Linked DNA regions of Homo sapiens: region 2 is linked to region 1. Evidence: promoter capture Hi-C in 16 types of primary human blood cells and fetal thymus (Javierre and others, 2016). All regions are on one chromosome and are shown on one strand. Each heading gives the region's core, a stretch centred on a gene start or on the middle of the fragment in contact. The rest is flanking DNA. Distances are from core to core; before and after follow the strand shown. Region 1 holds the start of CDH23 (cadherin related 23). Region 2 overlaps CDH23 (cadherin related 23).

Region 1 (2,902 bases), core at 338-2,837:
TTGCGACTGCGGTCACCAAACCATTGTTCCTGGCCCAGCCGTTGCCTGCAGTGGGCACCTGGGGCCTTTGCACATGCTGTTTCTCCTGCCTAAAACTCCACTCTCTCTCCCTTGCTCATCCTTCAGCTCAGTCACCTCCTCTAGGAGGTCTTCCCTGATCCCCTCGGCCAGGCGCCATTAAAGCACTCTTCTTCCTAGCACTGATTCTGGCTGTAATTTTACCTGCTTATGTGTTTCATTGATGAATGTCTGGTTCCCCTACTAGAGAAGCTTCATGGGGCACAAAGACCAAGCCTGTTTTGTTCTCCATCCTATTCCTAGAAACTATTTCAGTTAGCTAGCACATAGCAGTGACTGTGAATGAATGAATGAATAATGAATGAGCGAATGGTAAGGAACTGGAGCTTTGGAACCAGATAGATTCTGGGTTCAATACCCGACTCCACCACAGGGGCAAGTCCCCAACCTCCTAAAGCCTGTTTCTCACTGTAAAACTGGGATAATGGCAGGGCCCACCAGAAAGACTTTATTGAAGATAGAATGAGTTGAGGCCCAGAAAGTCTCAGCCCAGAGCCTGGCTCCAGGCAGGTACTGTCAATGTACTGACTGGAACAGTGACAGCTCGGAAATCCTGTCATGTGAGAAATAGTTTTAAAAAATCAGAATGCTTAGCCCCGGGGAAGTAAAGATCAAAGGTAGGGGATAAACCTCTTCCATTACCTGCATATGGACCCTTTCTTGATCCAGCTGTCTCAGAAAGCCATAAAGTCTCTGTCCCTATAGGTGTGCAAAAAGGAGCCGGGAGACCATGACTCGGGCACTGCAGACGGAGCTCCCGCAGGGGTGAGGGCGCCTAAGTGACCTCACGGGTCTCCTCCAACCCGGGGTCCTCCATTTCTAAGCACTTGGAGGCCTCTTGAGCTCTAGTGAGGGAGGAGGCGCAGATGGGAGCGCACGAGTCGGGTGGGCAAAGGCAGCTGGTTGGAGAGAAGCGTAGGCCAAGAGGCCCCAAGGACTAGAGGGACTGCTCAGCGACTCTGGGAGCAGAGAGGGGGCGCTTAAAGCCAACAGATGGCGCGGGCTCACCTAGGCCGAGCGCCCGCTCGCCCGCCCGGGCTTCCCGGGAGCGTTACCTCGCTCTGCCTGAGGCGCGGGGCGGACGAGACGCTGGGGGCCCCATCCCCCTGCGCGCCCCTCTGCGGGACGGCTGGCGGCCTGGCGGGGCACTGCTCTGTCTCGCACCTGGGGCCTCTTCCGCGGGCTTCCTCCCTGCCCCTTTGGGGGATTCGTAGAGTTGCCACAGCAGCCGGTGCCATGACATCGGCAGAGGGCAGCTTCGCCAGCACTGAAATATTCATGCCCTGAGCGCCCGGCGGGGCTCGGCGCCGCTCCCGGGGGTCCGGGCGGGGCCGGGCGGGAGCTCGGGGGTCCTGGCGGCCTGAGGGGTGGGGGAGCGCCGAGCGCGGGCGGGCGGGCGGGGGCCGGGCGAGGCGGGAGGTGAGGGAGGGAGCTGCGGGAGGCGGGGTCTGGACGGCGGGGGCCGAGCGGGGCGGGGGCCGAGCGGGGCGGGGGAAGCAAGGGAAAGTTGATCGCGGACTTGAGCGGCGGCGGCGGCTCGGGAGAGAGGGACGCGGGCTGCAGGCGCGATGCTTGGCTAGAGGACGCGTCCGACGGCGGCCGGACGCTGAGGTGGTCGGGGCTAGTCAGCCCGGCCTGGGCATGGAGCGCGGGGTGGCAGAGCCTCTGGACGTTTGGGGCGCGCCCAGTCCGAGCCCCCGGCGCGCCTGAAGTTGCGAGCGGCGAGCGGCGAGCGGCGAGCGGCCCGCGGAGACCCAGGAGCTGCCGGCACGCCGCGGATGAGCCTTCGCGCCGGCGGGAAGACGCGGCGGTGGCCAGGGCCAGAGCAGGCGGCCCGCGGGGGCCGATCCGGCGGAGAGCAGAGCCCGAGGCGAGGCGAGGCGCGGCGCCGCTGCACACACGCACACGGTACCCGGAGCCACGCACCGCCTCTTCCCTCCTCGCTTCCCTCTCCTTCCCCTCGCCGTTCGCCCGCCGCGCGGCGGGGAAGTTGGTGGTGACCGCGGCTGCCGAACCACTTGTTCCCAGCGCGGCCATCGCCCGTGGCGGGCGCTCGCGGCATCCTTCGGTCCCAGGCCCCTGGCCCTAGCCTCGCGCCCCGCTCCGAGCTCCCCGACGCGCGGCAACTTTGATTCCTGGGAACTCGAATTCCATTCGCGTTGGCCTTGGGAGGACAGGCATCCCATCCCCCATCCCCGGTCCTGGGACCGCGAACATTTGGGGGCTTTGCTCTCGGCGCTACGGAGAGGGTCCAGGTCTGGGGTGGAGAGATTTTCGAGAGTGGAGCGCGTTGGGATCCAATCCCCTCCCCTTCTGAGCCCTGGGTCCCCATTTGGACAGTGGGGATGGGGTGGGGCGCACCCCTACTGCGGGCTGGGCAGAGGCGCTGAGGGGAACTAAAGGCACGTAGTTCTCCCCTCCCCTCATCAAGTCCCTGTGCCCGCGGGAGACCCCAGGGGACTTACACATCCTCCCAAATTCGGTCCAGCTATGGGAAGACGCGCCCCTCGAGGAGCCGGGAGCCTTTTGCGGCTCTCGCTTCGCCTTCCTGGCCCTGGAACTGGTCCGCTACGAGCGGTGCTGGCTGCCCCCAGGAGCTGGCACCCGGGAGCACTGCCCCTCATCTCCACCGTAGGTCAGCCCAGGACTCGAGCAGAGCCCGCGTGTTCCAAGGCAGTGACGGCGCCAGCCGGCGGGGACTCTGCCTGGCTTTCTCGGAGCGGGCACCTAGAGAGGCTGCCTCCGTGCTGTGAGCGGAGATCCGATGCCAGCCGCCGCCCCACTGCGACCCCAGCCCCAGCCCTAGTGCTGTCAGCGGTCCACT
Region 2 (2,904 bases), core at 299-2,798, 150 kb after region 1:
GCTGCCACCTCCGATGGCAGGACTCAGGGCCTGGCCTCCCTGCCTGCCCAACAGATGTCAGTTCTCCAGGGCCCCCTCTGCCCACAAGTCTTTGCCCTGTACAGCCTCTCTCTGGGCTTTGCAGGGAGGCTGAGCTCAGCAGGCGCCCACCTAGGCAGGAGGCCGAGAAGATAAGGCCAGCCAAGACCTGGCTGCTGATACCTGGCGTGAAATTGAAAAGCACCAGACTCCTGCCTCCACAGCCTGGTGCCCTGAGGGAGAGAAGGCTGGGAATGGTGAATGAAACTGACCCGCCCAGCCAGCAGGGCCAGGCTCCAGGCTGCCACACTTCAGCTCTCCCCACCCCTTCCCCTGGGGGAGGCACAGGCTGAGCGGGTTCTTCGAGGCTCTGAACAGCAAGCCCCTTTCCAGGGTGGCAGCGTGCAGGGGGCTTCTGTGAGCCTAGGGGCTTTAGTGGGCCCCTGGTTTTGAAGTGGGGGACAACCACCAAAAAGGGGAATTGGATGGGAGTGCCCTTGCCTTGTGGAATTAGGCCTGTCCAGAGGCCAGCGTTGCAGTGCTCTAAGGTCATTGTAATGCAAGGCTAGCAAGTCCAGAACTTCTCAGAACAGCCCGAATGCACAGACTTATGAGACGCTGTTCCTCCAGGGCCCCATTCAGCAGGTGTGGACACCAAGGCCCGGAGAGCTGAGCACCCGGCCCCACCCAGGAGTACAGGGAGTTGGGTGGGGACCCAAGTGTCTGATTTCTGGAGCAGGGCTTTCACTTCTGCAGCCCAGTATGGTCCAGAACTTGTCACCCTCATCCTCAGGCCTGTTGTCCCCGAGGACCTCCATTATCCAGAGAGCACTGGAAGAAACCTTGCTGTAGTAGACCTGAGGATGGGGACAGCTCCCCTCTCTCCTTACCCTCACTGTCAAAGCACCCACAGATCAGATGTCTGATGGTAATGACCTCTCCAGGGTCTGGCCCACAGCATGTTTATTAGGGTCCATATGCAGCCGATGCTGTCCATGCCGGGTGAATACATGCCAAGTGATTTCCTGTTCACCCAGTTCCGCATAGATGATTCTGGTTATAACAGTGCAAGCTAAGAGGGAGGAAGTCAACCATTTTTTTTCCATCAGCAATCTGAATTTTACAAGTCCTCATGCTTCTCCTAGCCACTCTAGCAAGGGAAAAGGTTCTTTCCATTTGACAGATGGGAAACTGAGGCCCAGATGGGCACTGTGATTACCTTCAGGCTCTATAGAGTTCAGGGGCCAGGGTGGAGCTGAACCTCCCAGCACCCTCTTACCAGCCACCCCACCCCATGTGGGGATGTGGAGGATCCCAGGGCTGCTGGGACCTGTTGCTTCACAGTGACTTGGTTCTCCCAAAGCTGCTAAGTACTGTAGAGCAGAATGAAGTGCAGCAGACGGATCCTTGGGCCTCTTAGAGAGTGCCCCAATTTGTAAAACAAAGCTTGAGAAGGAGAAAAAAAAAAGATGGAAAAAAGCAAATTGGAAGCAAGAGCAGGCTGTATTTTCCATCCCTTCAACCATCAGCTGCTTTAAAGGGCCAGCCTCGTCCTCGTGGGGCAGGATAGGATAAGGAGGCAGGCCTGAGCTTTTAATCAGAGTTATGTTAGATAAAGCTTTTATTATTCACCTGGCTTTATTATAGCTCTTTCCTGAGGTTAGAAGCTAATTTTCCTGGTTTTTACCGAACTCTGGTCTGCTTGGCTGCCACAGATGCAGGAGAGGTGGACGGGAGTAGCGGAAAAAAGGGAGATGGGGGTAGAAATCAAATCAAATAAACTCTCCTCATCCAGTGGACCGAGAGAGTGGGCGGAAAACAACTCTAATAACAGGGGAAGTTTCCAGAGGTGGAAGCAGGCTGGTGAAATCAGGCCTAATCAGCTCTAGCAGAAGGGGTTCCAATCACCCCCAGCCTCACCAGGGGGAGGGCAGAGTGGACGAAGCTGGCGATGGGAGTAGGCTGGGGGCTGGACAGTGGCAGGCAAGGCAATCAGAGCCCTGCCAGCAGAGCCTGCCCCACGCCCGCTCCCACCCTCTGCCTTGTGTTCCAGCCACAGGAGTGGGAATGCTGGCAGAGGGTTAACCGGTTAGTGACCGGGATGGAAAAGAGGAGGAGCATACCTACACCAGGCCCGGGGCCACAGGCACGTTGCCCTGGGACACGCTGCACACCCCAAATACCCCTCCCACAATCAGGCATGAAGTAGAAGCCACCAATGCCACAGACAAGACCCACGAGGCAAAGAACTTTGGCCACAGCTATCTGGGGGAAGAAGATAGTGCTCCGTTTTCTAACTCTCCCCACCTTCAAAGGGAGTCGGATCATTTTCAGTTGACTTCTCCGCCAGTCAGGAGCCCATCGAATGATGTTCCAATTTCTTGACAGTTAGAGAGTCATTTTATGGCTAGATTTAGAGGTTGGAGGTGGTCTGTGGCTGGGGTCTGGTGTCTGTGACTGGTGCAGTGTGTGCCCTGGGGTAACCCTGGGGACAGAGTCAGTCCCCGACCCCAACCCCTGGTGACAGTAGCAGGAGGGGAAAGCCACGTCCACCCTGTAAGTTACTGTCGAAGGAGGGATTCGCATCCACTAAACAGCCATTAGGCCAGAAGCACCAGATGCAATAGCTTGAAAGAGACAGCAGTGCTCACCCCAGCCTTTCCTGGGGGTTGATCATTTAATCTCTTTAGCTCCTGCTACAAGAGGGAAAGAAGACTGCAGAGAGGAGAGGTGATATTGAGACAGGCACCGTGCTCCCAGGCCACGGCAGGGGAGGGGGAGGACAGAGCAGCTGTCCCTGCCAGAGAGGTCAGTGGCCTTCGGAGAAACCCATTAGACCGTTCTCATCCACCGTGCGTTTCATTAAAAGTGAGACAGTTTGCACCT

The links. The method cuts DNA at HindIII sites, captures the fragments that hold promoters and counts their contacts. A CHiCAGO score of 5 or more calls a contact.
Region 2: a contact is called between a fragment that was not itself captured here and the fragment with the promoter of CDH23 in region 1, in 2 of 17 cell types (megakaryocytes and M1 macrophages). The highest score is 6.5, in megakaryocytes.

The regions. Positions count from the first base shown.
Region 1 is chr10:71,395,333-71,398,234 of GRCh38, forward strand. It overlaps CDH23 (cadherin related 23), which reads left to right and starts at 1,588. Exons shown (of 70, transcript NM_022124.6): 1 at 1,588-1,986. RefSeq lists a silencer at 1,107-1,196 and an enhancer at 1,880-2,391. The HindIII fragment of the contact is 8,970 bases long and covers 269-2,902 here.
Region 2 is chr10:71,542,475-71,545,378 of GRCh38, forward strand. The region is part of intron 6 of CDH23 (cadherin related 23); the gene reads left to right. Among named protein-coding and RNA genes, the nearest start is that of CDH23-AS1, 32 kb to the left of the region's middle. RefSeq lists enhancers at 1-285, 1,537-2,046. The HindIII fragment of the contact is 172 bases long and covers 1,463-1,634 here.